Regions from separate parts of the Homo sapiens genome. Here region 1 is linked to region 2. Evidence: promoter capture Hi-C in human tissues and cell types (Jung and others, 2019). All regions are on one chromosome and are shown on one strand. The core of a region is centred on a gene start or on the middle of the fragment in contact, and the rest is flanking DNA. Distances in the headings are between cores, read along the strand shown. Region 1 holds the start of PPIE (peptidylprolyl isomerase E). Region 2 holds the start of HEYL (hes related family bHLH transcription factor with YRPW motif like).

Evidence for each region. Contacts are between HindIII fragments. The study calls those that stand out against the background at their distance.
Region 1: a fragment that was not itself captured here is called in contact with the fragment with the promoter of HEYL in region 2 in 2 of the 25 tissues and cell types used here (H1 embryonic stem cells and psoas muscle).

Annotation. Positions count from the first base shown.
Region 1 is chr1:39,737,934-39,744,097 of GRCh38, reverse strand. It overlaps PPIE (peptidylprolyl isomerase E), which reads right to left and starts at 5,216. Exons shown (of 10, transcript NM_006112.4): 1 at 5,167-5,216; 2 at 3,835-3,933; 3 at 2,689-2,732; 4 at 2,177-2,203; 5 at 801-882; 6 at 174-274. The coding sequence starts at 5,197. RefSeq lists an enhancer at 4,959-5,168. The HindIII fragment of the contact is 4,843 bases long and covers 1,905-6,164 here.
Region 2 is chr1:39,636,587-39,642,725 of GRCh38, reverse strand. It overlaps HEYL (hes related family bHLH transcription factor with YRPW motif like), which reads left to right and starts at 3,083. Exons shown (of 5, transcript NM_014571.4): 1 at 3,083-3,180. The coding sequence starts at 3,101. RefSeq lists silencers at 2,727-3,116, 3,237-3,306. The HindIII fragment of the contact is 11,489 bases long and covers 1-5,298 here.

The DNA of each region.
Region 1 (6,164 bases), core at 3,077-5,576, 100 kb before region 2:
ACTTTACCAAAGTACTAAGAACTCAATATTGACTTTACCAAAGTACTAAGAATTCATTATTCATTCCCTCCACTTTGATATACATATTGGCAAATTTCCATTAAAACTTAAAAAAAAAAGTCTCCTGTGGACAGCGCCGGCCTGTGCTCTGGAAGCAGGAGCTTCATTCTCACCTCCTGGGTCTCTGCTTTGGGAGGCTCTGACCCTTCTTCCTCTTTATTCTCTTCAAGCGTCTTCCCAGAAAACTTCTTCAACCAGTCATCATCTGACCAAACTGAAAGGAAAGAATCAAACAAATGTTCATTCAAGCTGTCAGCTTGAACTGAAAAGTAGCTGCTTTGGTCAGCAAAGTGGAAGATGCTATGTGGCCTGTATGCCAGACAATTCCCCACTGAGAACTCCCAGGGGTAAGGAAAGTTCCCATCCAGAATGTAGGCCCTGAAGTCCAGCTCTCAGTAGGGCTAAGGAAAATAGCTATGCCGAAAGCAAAGGTGTAGCCTTTGCTGATTTCAGCCCTTGATGGAGACCCCAGGAATGGAATATCAAGAAAACTGGGAAAGATGAGCTCAGGCAGGAATTTCTCTCATAACAGAAACAATCACTTTGGCTTTGCTGAGAAGCTCAAACTCACTTGTTTCTCTAAAAAGGTGGTGCATGCCCTTCCCAATGTGAACCATCATCTACTCCTATCTACCAGGAAGCAGCATTTAGCATCTACTTCCAAGTAAATAGAGACAAAAAATGCAACTAAGGCCAAACTGCAGAACATCACAGGGAATCTGGAAGTTGCTCCTACTCACCTGGCCTGGAAGAGCCTTCCTTAATTCTCATTGGTTTGGCCAAATTGACACGAATTGTACGTCCAAAAAGCTCAGATTCATTCTGAAAAGATTGAAAATCCAGCTGCTTAAACTCTCTTAGGTTAAAAGAGGGCCAGCCAGCTTTCCATATACTTCTGAGACACACTCATGATTTGTCCTCCCTTAATCCCTGGGCCTCTACCAGTAAGCTATGCAGCCACCCCAAAGCCACCTGTGGGTTTCAGGGAACTCACACCCCTTTCTTTCATAGCAGCACACAAAGACCTGTATTACCAAAAGTAACTCTGGGTTCAGAACACTCCAAAATTACAAAAATAAATGCAGTTTCCCAGTATTTGAGTTCACCTTCAAAAGTCAAGATAAGCTTTGAAATGAAAGAAAAATGATCTCTGACAGCTGATGAATATGTTTGGTGAATGGATAACAGAACAACAAATAAAACAACATCTCATTATCCAAAGATAATCGGTACCAGGAAAGGTCATTTAAGGTGACTCCACTTGAAGTGGTGATGAAGATTTCGTGGTAAAATTGAAAAATTTTAAAAGGCTGACTGGGAAATTACTGTGATGAAACTAAAAATAATAAAAACAAGTTTCTTACCATTAATATTCAGGACTAACTATGCACTAATCGGTAGAAAGAAATGTAACTTGGTAGAAAGAAATGTAACAGGTAGCCCAGGTAGCCCTGTTGGCTTGAGCCTGTAATTCCAGCTACTTGAGAAGCTGAGAAGTCTTGAACTCATGAGTTCAAGATTGTTAAAAAAAAAAAAAAAAAAAAAAAGAAAGAAAGAAAAGTAACAGGCACTGAAGTATTATTTTTCCAACAAAATTCTATCAACAGTATGGTATCTTTGCACTTCTTATCAGACATGAAAACTAAAAGGATCTCAAGGAAGGCACAAATACTAAAGAGCATCATCATTTTTCCCAAGGACCTTTCCAGAATATCCAAATCATTTGTATCAGTGATTTGCACCTGCCATAATTAAATTTCTCTTCTCAATTGTAAATTGGTCTAACACTTCATGAAATCCTGCTATTTTGCAAAATATGCAGTTACACCGTGCAATCAATTTGCACTGTGTCTGCAAATTATCCTAAACATGGGAGAGCCAGTGAGAGACTGGTCAACAAGGATGATGAGGACTTACATTATTCTGAAATGGCGAAGGAGTCTGAGTAAGAACTAATTTTATAAGTGATCAATTCACAGTGAATATTTTCATGTGAGAATTTTTACCTCCCCATGCAACCTTGTAACTTTGGAAGTCCAGAACACTGATATATGAATAAGGAGCCTCTGTACCACCAAAAAGCAACTTTAGTTAGAATTAAGATTCCCAGCCATACCATGTTGTCGATAGCTGCTGCAGCATCCTGCCAAGGAAAGACAAAGGTACAAGTTTAGGCTTGCAGCCAAATGCTTCTTATGGTGTCTAAACACATGCTCAGTAGCAAAAATCCAGAAAAATGCCACCTCTGTATTTCTTGCCTAGGTTTTGTGTGTTTCTAACAAAGAGCACTTCCTGGCTGATTTTAGAGCTGGTGGTGCAACAATTTGCCATCTAGTTGAAGGCACAAGAAATAATCACTACTTCCAGGCAAGAATGCTCAATGAACAGGGGTGCATGAGCTAGCTCCTCTGCAGGGCAAGAATGGGAGGGCCTGGCAGGTCTGACATGTTATTCACAGTCCAGTCTGATTATGTGAGAGACGCTTTCCTTAGAACAGCACTTACTTCTGATCTCTCTGGAAGCATCAGCCTAAGGCCCAAAAACCTAACCAAATGGTGAAAAGCTTCCTTTGTAATCAGTAACAACATCACAAACCAAGGACTAGACACTAGTAACACAGACTCTCACCTCTGCCAACTCAAATTCAACAAAAGCAAATCCTCGGTGCTTTTCTACAAAATGGAAAAACAAAAACAAGTAATTACTATGTGGGGTAGTGGGAAGAAACAGGATGGTCACAAAGTGAAGTCAGTTACATGTCGTATCCAAACACCAGAAGTTCTATCCAATCACTATTTAGGAAGAAGGAATCTCATTCTTGATTCTTCTTATACAATATTTTAAGCAATAATAAACTTTGTTTTTTTAATGGACATAGCTGAATAGTAAACTGTATTTTTAATTGATAAGTATTCAATTATTCTACGAAAGCCAAACTTAAAACCTTAACCATTGCATGCAAAGCAATTAGAAAAATAAAGTCATTTGACCTATCAATTATCTATCTAAATATATATTTTGCGCATCAACTGTGCATAAAGCATGAATCCTAAAACCTGATAAAGATGCTCAGTCTTTATCTTCAGGAAAATGCTGAACTAACTAGAAAGACCAAGCACAATAATGTTTATCATAGAACTCAGAGACTAGAAGGCCCTTAGAAAGCCAACATAACCTTATCATTTTGCAAATAAAGATTTCCCAGGCCCAGAGAGTTTAAAGACTTTGCTAACAATCATATGCAAGGTTGATGATAAAACTAGGCCTAAAACTATAATCTTAAAAATGACAACAAAGGTAAACAGAAAACTGAACTGTGGTTGTGATACCAATCGATGGGAAACCCACCCAGGGGTGCAGAGGCCAAGAACCCCCGCCCTCACCCACCCCCATTATGGGGCTAGGCTTTCCCGCTGCCTCATTTAATAGCACAGCTGCAAGAAGGTGCAGGTGGGATGGGGTACCCATCAGGTAGATTAAAACAACATTCAAATCTCAATGTAGTTCAAACCTATCTCCCTACTGGTCTATTGAAAAATCTGTCTTATCTCAACCCAACAGCTGAAGACTCTGGAAAGTATTCAGAGTTCACAACCACATGGCCTCAGAACATTCCTTCTCCATCGAGATCACTGTCACCAGACACCTTCCTGAACTTACCTGTAGTGTATACTAACCATATTTAGAATGCATATTTAGAATTGTGATGTGACTTTAATTTTTTAAGGTATTTTCCTAGTAAGAGGATTCTGAACGTGAGAGACACTAACTCACCTGTTTCATAATCCAGAGGAATCTGAATATCTGTGATGTCTCCAAAAGGAATGAACGCAGCATGAAGAACTTTGTCGTCCACTTCCTCTGCCAGTCCACCTGCAAATAAGCCAAGGGCCTTCTGAGCCACTGATCTCCATACTCTTGCAGAAGTCCTTGCAGCCCAGTTAGCATGCTAGCCAGGGGACAGGACCCTTCCATTCAGTTCTTTGGGTAAACAAACATCCCCCTCTCATCTCTGCCCACCCATACTTATGAAAAATATTCCTCTCTTCGCCCTTCTTTCAGACTCTCATCTAGTCCTGGGATTACTGCAATAGCTTCACAACTGACCTCCCTGCCTCCATTCCATCAACTCCACAAAGCCAACTAGAATGATCTTAGGAAAATGCAAATTTGAACCCGTAACTTTTCGCTTACACTCCTTCAAAGGCTTCCCACTGTCCTCAGGATAAAGTGCAAACTCCTTAGCAGTACCCACCTCTCCAGCTTTTTTGCTTTGCTTCCTAATTTCCTGGGTCTCCCGAATAATGACCCACTTGCCCCCAAGTGTCAGGCTATTTCACACCTTTGCGACTCCCTTGCAGTGAACGGCCTTGCCTCTGCTTCGGTTACGTAGCTAACTCCTGCTCATCAGCTCTGGCATCGCCGCATCCAGAATTTGCCCTCGCTTCTCCAGATGGATGGGTCATTTGTCCCGCAGCCAGGCCCATATTATCATGATCCATCCTCACTACAGCGCTTATCAAAAGTGTGCTACTGAGGTAATTCCACTTTTTTTCTGGCTAGTCTGGGAACTCCTTCCTTTATGGCAGGGGCTGGGGCTGAGCCGTCGCTGCACTGAATGTTTGTAAAACAAATGAACGAGAGGATCCGAAGGGCCATAATACTCCTTTACCGCTCCTCGGGGCCCGCTGGAGCTCAGCGGGCTAGGAAGTCAGAATAATCATTCCGTCTCGGGTTCACGCACCTGAGGTGTGTGGCAAGGCTGTTCACTGCAAGGGAGTCGCAAAAGCAGAGGCCCAAAGGTGTGAAATAACCTGAACCTTGGGGGCAAGTGGGTCATTTTTCGGGAGACCCAGCGAATCGGGAAGCAAAGCAAAGAAGCTGGAGAAGTGCGTACTGCTAAGAAGTCTGCACTTTTTCCTGAGGACAGTGGGAAACCTTGGAAGGAGTTTAAGCACAGCCAGAGCTATCGCCAGCACTACCGCCAGAGACCCGGCCTTGACAGCAGCTCGCCGTCCTCCTGGTTCAGAGATGCGTCCCACCCCACGCCCCGACCCTTGGGGGTCGCGTTCACTCAGACTCCGCCTAGCAACCCCTCCTGCTCACCCACGTACAAGACGCGCTTGGTGGTGGCCATCTTGCTCGCGCGCTTTTCCGCCGGAAGCCAGCACTCGACCCGTCCTCTTCCCCACTGTCCCGCCCCGCCCCCAACGCTTAGCTCTTAGACCCCGCCCACCCTCGCGTTGGTCCAACCGGCATCCCGCTACCCGGATGCACTGGGCGCCTTGTGAGGTGCGCAGTGGTAAACCAAGGGACGTGGTCCTCGCGCTTCCCAGTGCGCACCGTGTTGGGGGAGGGAAACCTTGGCCGAATCAACCCGATTATTATGGGCAAACGATAAACTCTGGTGCTTGGCCATCCTGCGCGTCTGTTTTTGGACAACCTGGGAGCTAAGAATGAATTTTACCTTTTGAAATAGTTGGAAAAAATAAAAAAACTATATTTTCTTGGCCGGGCGTGGTGGCTCATGCCTGTAGCCCCAGCACTTTGGGAGGCTGAGGCGGGCGGATCACCTGAGGTCAGGAGTTCGAGAGCAGCCTGGCCAACATGGTGAAACCCCGTCTCTACTAAAAATGCAAAAATTAGCCAGGCGTGGTAGCGGGCGCCTGTAATCGCAGCTACTCAGGAGGCTGAGGCTGGAGAATCGCTTGAACCCAGGTAGCGGAGGTTGCAGTGAGCAGAGATCGCGCCGTTGCACTCCAGCCAGGGTGACGAGAGCGACACACCATCTCACAAAATATATATGTATATTTTCTTAGCACATGAAAATTATGTGAAATTAAAATTTCAGTGTCCGTAAAGAAAGCTTTATGGGGACACAGCCACGCTCATTCCTTTAAGTATGACTGTGGCTGCTTTCCTACTACAAGGGCAGAAGAGCTATAGCCTGCAAAGCCTACAATAATATTTACAATCTGGCTCTTCAGAAAGAACGTTTGTCTACTCGTGTTAGGTTTTGAAAAGAAGGCAAGGGTTAAAGAAAGACACACACACACACACACACACACACAGAAAGAGGGCGGCTCGACAGCAAACGCAGGCTT
Region 2 (6,139 bases), core at 1,834-4,333:
GAATGACCTGACCCAAAATGCCAGTAGTCCTGAGGTTAAGAAACCCTGCACCAGATTAGCACCATCCAATAGGAATATCATGGGAGCCAAATATGCAGTTTAACATTTTCTAGTAGTCACATTTTTAAAAACCTAAAAATAAAACAAGGGAAGTTAACTTTACTAATGTATTTTATTTCATCCAATATTTATACAATATTATCATTGCAACATGTAATCATAACAAAAAATATCAATGAGATAGTTCACACTTAAAAAAATTCTGGTGTGTATTTCATACTCACTGCACATACAGCAATTCAGACCAGCCACATTTCAAGTACTTAATAGCCATAGGGGGTTCGTGGCTATTATATTGATGGCATAGCTCTAGGCTCAGTACTGGATAATATATCACAATGTTTAAGAGCTGTATAATTGACGGGGTGTAGTGGCTTACTCCTGTAATCTTAACACTTTGGGAGGCCAAGGTGGGAAGATTGCTTGGCCCCAGGAGTTGAAGACCAGCCCGGGCAACATAGTGAGATCTCATCTCTACCAAAAAAAATTTTTTTTTTTTTTTTTTTTTTTTTGAGACGGAGTCTTACTCTGTCGCCCAGGCTGGAGTGCAGTGGCGCCATCTTGGCTCACTGCAAGCTCCGCCTCCCGGGTTCACGCCATTCTCCTGACTCAGCCTCCCGAGTAGGTGGGACTACAGGTGCCTGCCACCACGCCTGGCTAATTTTTTGTATTTTTTAGTAGAGATGGGGTTTCACCGTGTTAGGCAGGATGGTCTCGATCTCCTGACCTTGTGATCCGCCTGCCTCAGCCTCCCAAAGTGCTGAGATTACAGGCGTGAGCCACCACACCTGGCAAAATGTTGTTTTTTTAATTAGCTGAGCATGGTGGTATGCCCCTGTAGTCTGAGCTATTCAGGAGGCTGAGGTGGGAGGATCACTTGAGCCAAGGAGTTCAAGGTTTCAGTGAGCTACGATGGCACCACTACACTCTAGCCTGGTGACAGAGTGAATCCTTGTCTTTATTTTTAAAAGAAGGGGGAGTACTGTATAAAGTAATAAAGCCTAATGTTTTGGCTCTGGAACTGAACTGCCTTGTTGAATTCCAGCCCTTCCATTTATTGCCTGTTGGCCTTAGGTGGAGTTAGTCTACCTCTCAGCCTTTGTTTCTCACTTGTAAAGTGGGGATTATAATATTACTACTTTATAGGGTTGTCAAGGATTAAATGAGTTAATATTTACAAAAGACTTAGAATAGTTTCAGGTTTTATAATAAGGGCTCACCAAATGTTAAGTATTTAGCTAGGCCCCTGCTCTGTCTCCATCCACGTTTTCTGAATGATCCCATCTGCTCCCATAGCTTTAAATGCCATCAATTACCTAATGACGTCCAAATTTAATATCCAGCTGAGACCTCTGTTCTGAACTCCATACCCTCTATTTAACTGTGCACTGTATTTTGATGATCCAAGACATCTCACATGAAACGTCCATCACGGGGCCCTTGACCTTCCCCTGCAAATCTGCTCCTCTTCCAATCTTTGCTATCTCAGCCAATTACACAGGGCAGCTATCTGGGAGGCTTCCTTGACTTCCGCCTTTCCAGGGAATGCATAACACATTGTGCAACTTCTCTGTTAGTTGAGGTTTCCACTGACTGGCATGTGCCCACAGAAGTGATGTGAGTGCTGAGGGCATTTGGAATGAGAGTCCATAGTTGTGGCTGGGGCGACCACCAGGGCTTCCTGGTACTGATTGCTCACGACAGTTGCGCCTACCAGTATATATTTGTAAGTCTGTCCGTGTGTATGTGTTTGCATACCTGGCCAAATGGTTGTGTCTGTGGATGTGTGTGGACGGGGGCACAGGAACATTCTTTCCCATCAAGTAATCAAGTGTCCCCCAGCAAGCAGGCCTTGCTGTGGGGATGGAAGCACAGTTATTCTCAGATGACCAACCCGATTCTCCCACTTGAAGGGGTGGCTTCCCTCAGGTCCTGACCTGGTGGCGGGTAAAAAGGAAAAGACCTCTCATATCTAACCCAGCACACCAAGACCTCCTCTATCTCCTCTTCCCTGCCCAAGAAGTCCAGCTCCAGGATGCTCTCATGCAGCTTCCTTTGGAGCCTTAGGAGCTTCTCTGAGGTACTGGGCGCCTGAGGATGACCGGTGAATCTGAGAACTTCCCACAAGTCCCCCTAAGGACAGGGCAGCTAGAGCCCTCCCTGAGTGAACAGTTTGATGGGTTGCCAGAAGCAGAGGCCCCAGGAAGAGAGGCTGGAAGGTATCTTCCCTTTTCCTCTCCTTCTCCCACTTTGAGGCCCTGCCATAGCGTCTAGAAGGAGCCCTTTCCTGGCCTCCTGGCCGCCCAGGACAACTCGACCTCTGGTGAACTGGGAACTGATTCCCAGGGACAACCCACCACTGCCACCACGCCAGGCCTTTAGGGACCTCGGCCAGAGCCCAGCTTTCTCAGATGCGGTGGCCACAACTTCAGCCGTCCCTTTTGGGGGTGACTGCCACCTCTCAGAAGTGTAAGTGTCTTCCCCTTGCCCCCACCACACTATTCCACTTGCTTTGGGCCCCTATGGAGTTGCTGCTGGGGAATTCTTGCTGAGGATCAGGCCACAACCACCACGACTAACTTCGACAAACTTGATGTGTCTGCTGCCTCCAGAACACCAGGAGGCAGGAGCGCGCAGGGTTGACCCTTGCGGAATCCCGGGCATCGAAGCGGCGCCTCTACAGGCCAGCAGCGCCCAGGCGACCCAGGGACAGACGGGGACTCCTGGCTTCCCCGCGGGGCCTCCCAGGGCACCTGCCCAAGGCCACCCAGCGCGCGGCAGCCGAGACAGCGGAGCAGAGCCGGACCTCCCAGCCGTCGATGAAGGCGGCGACCGCCTAGGGCCTTCCCACGGCTCGGCGGCGCGTCACCGCGGGGGCGAGGGGGCGCCTGGGCGCCCGGAGCTGCGGCGCAGGAAAGGGCCCTGGGAAAGGGCGGTGGCGGCGCCCCCGAGGCGGGGCCGGGGCGGGGCCGGGGCGGGGCCTGACTTCCCGACTGGGAGCCTTAGCCGCGGGGCTGAGACCAGGCAGCCTGCGTTCGCCATGAAGCGACCCAAGGAGCCGAGCGGCTCCGACGGGGAGTCCGACGGACCCATCGACGTGGGCCAAGAGGGCCAGCTGAGGTAAGGGCCGGGATGCGGGGACCGAGCAGGCGGAGGGCGAGCGGGGTGGGGGTCGGCCCGACGGGCTCGCCGAGCAGGCGGGCCAGCCCTCCAGCACCGCCTGGGCAGAGGCAGGTGAGCGCGGGGGCCACAGGTGTCGGCGTAGGGGGCGTGTGCGGGCCGTGCCGTTACACGCACGAGTGCCTGGATCCTGCGCGCTCTCGGTCGTGCAGGGCTGGGGATGCTGGCAGGGAGGGAGAGTTCAGCTCGGGGGATCAGGTGGCTAGTGGGTTATCATCTATCTGTTGAAGTGGCCTAGGGGAGGCCATTGGCAGGTTTTCCCTGGAGATCTTAGAAAACTCTCATAGACTGATGGTACTCTGGCCCCTGTCTGGAATCTGCTGACGATGCAGAGTAACCCCATCCTTTCCCAATTTTACCCTAGTTTGGATGCAGTTTTCATGTAGTCCACAAATTATTTCAGGAAGAAGAAAATTTGTCCTCCTTTGAGCAAATTGGAGTTTGGATTTAGGGACTTAGTATTGAAGAAAATAATAAGCGACTTGCAAGGGCCTAGACTCTAATTCCAATGTTCCTCCTATCGTGCCCCCATACTGCCAGTGTCTTTCAGCTCCTGGTAGATAGTCTGACCTGCTTCAAACCTGTCGAACAAACTGCGCTTGTATAGTTCTGCTACCTCGCAGTTCTGTAAACTGTCTAAGCTTCAGTTTCCTTATCTGTTAAATGAGCATGAATAATAGAACCAACTTCATGGAAATATTGGGAAAACCAAATGAGGCAAAGTATGTCAAGGGCTTAGCACAGCACATGCCTAGGTACACACCATGTGATTCCCAGCACCCTGAAAGAGCTGCAGGGCTGACTGGGAGTCTGCAGACCTGGGTCCCAGCCCCAAATCTGCCACCAACTCACTATGTGGTCTTGGGCCATTGGTTTCCCTGACAGAGTCTGTCATCAGTTTCCCCATCAGTAAAACAAAGACAGCAGTGGAAAAGAAAGGGATATACTTCATCTCTCTTGGCTCATCTAGACTTGACTCTCTAGAACAGAATTGGAGGGGAATTCAGTTAATTCTTTCTTTCTTTCTTTTTGACATGGTCTCACTCTGTTGCCCATGCTGGAGTGCAGTGGCATGATCATAGCTCATGGCAACCTTGATCTCCTGGGCTTAAGTGATCCTCCTGCCTTGGCCTCCCAAAGTGTTGGGATTACAGACATAAGCCAGTGAGCCAGGCCCAGTTAATTCTTAGGGATGTTTTTGAGGACATTTTGTAATTTTAGTGCTCTCCAGTTTTCTGAGATCCAAGGATCCTGCCTCAGTCTCAAATCCCAGGAAAATGCCATAATAGATATTCCTCTTGCAGCCTGTACATTTGTTTTTAGGGAGTATAACACAACTCGCTATGCAACGTATTAGCCTTTCTTAATTGTTTAGCAGAAACTGCTATTTAGAAAAGCAGTTATCTTAGCCTGTGCCTGTTAAGGGCCAGGAAAGGGCACAGCACCACGTGGTGGTGGTGGAGCGGGGTCTCAAATTCAATGGCATTGGGTCTTCATAGATCAGAGGCACAAAATTGATGCCAGAGAACTAGGTTGATCAGAGCTGGCTTCTGTCCTCCACAAGTTTGCAGCCCAGTCAGTGACCTGCCAGGTCATAAAAACACCATGGACAGGATGGAAAGGAGACAGACTGTGGGCTGTGAGGGCACTTAAGCAAAGAGAGGTCACTCTTAATCAAAGATGGCAAGGAGGGCTTCTTGAAGATAGTAGCATCTGGGCAACTGCTTACATGAGGCATAAAGGATCAGTGGGCAGTTTTTTCCTATACATACAGCATTTCCTATATATACAGAGCCCATTTTTAGACACTGTTCTTAGAGGAGCAGACCCCTCTGAGGAGAGAAAGCAGCTGGACATCTGGCAGAGGCTGACTTATAGATGCCCCTTTGTAGCACTCACCAAAGGGCCCTTCCCCCAGCAGACATCAATGCTTCAATTCAGGGAGCACTGAACGATGCCTGCTGTGGCCCAGACCCTGGGCTGGGCATAGGGGGCCCAGATGTATCCTGCTCAGCCTCTGCCCTCAGGGAACTCTCAGGGAAGAAGAGCTTCATGTACAAAGAAAGCAGATAAACACTGACAAAGGCCGCAGGACGGAGGCAGCCAGCCTCTCGGGGTCAGGGGCAGGGCGCAAAACCCCCACACTCAGAAACGTGAGAGTAAAGAGCAGGGTGTGTTCCACCATCACTGTGGCATCTGCCTGGTGGCAGTCCTGCCACATCTGTGAAACTCACCCACAGAGCTCTCATCTCAACCTGGCCCCATGACGCAGGATGAGTCCAAACTGAGAGTACAGCCTCTCCTCTCCCTCTGCAAACATCTAATGAGCACCTGCCACATGTCAGACACTGGATCAGGGTCCTGTTCCTGCACAATATAAGGTGGTGGTCTTGGAGTCAGATAGACCTGAGTTTGAATTTTACCACCATTAACTTTGGCCAGTGACTTTTACCCCTTTCTGAACCTCAGTTTTCTCGCGTTCAAAATGGGAATACATTAGCACTCCTGCCTCGCAGGATAAGGTTTGATGAAGTAACATACATAAAGTTACATAGCTCCCTGCTTTGGCACAAAGTAACTTCCAATAAACGTTGCTGTCAAAGCGGTCACCATTCAGTTGGGGGGCAACATATTTATGAGACAGCATGGTCTAATGAAAAGACCGGAAGTGTGAAGACTGGACTTACTGGAGTGATTCTTAACTCCAGTGTCTCTGTCACTCCACCTGTAAAATGATTATTTTTCCTAAATGTGAAATGGCCCAAAAAATACTTCACTTACAGTGCTATTGTGCAATAAATTAGACAAATGGATGTGGAAGTGCAGTATAGAACAAAAAGCACTGGCTCTGAGATCTACATGACGGGATGATGTATATATGGGGTGCACTGGCAAAAGC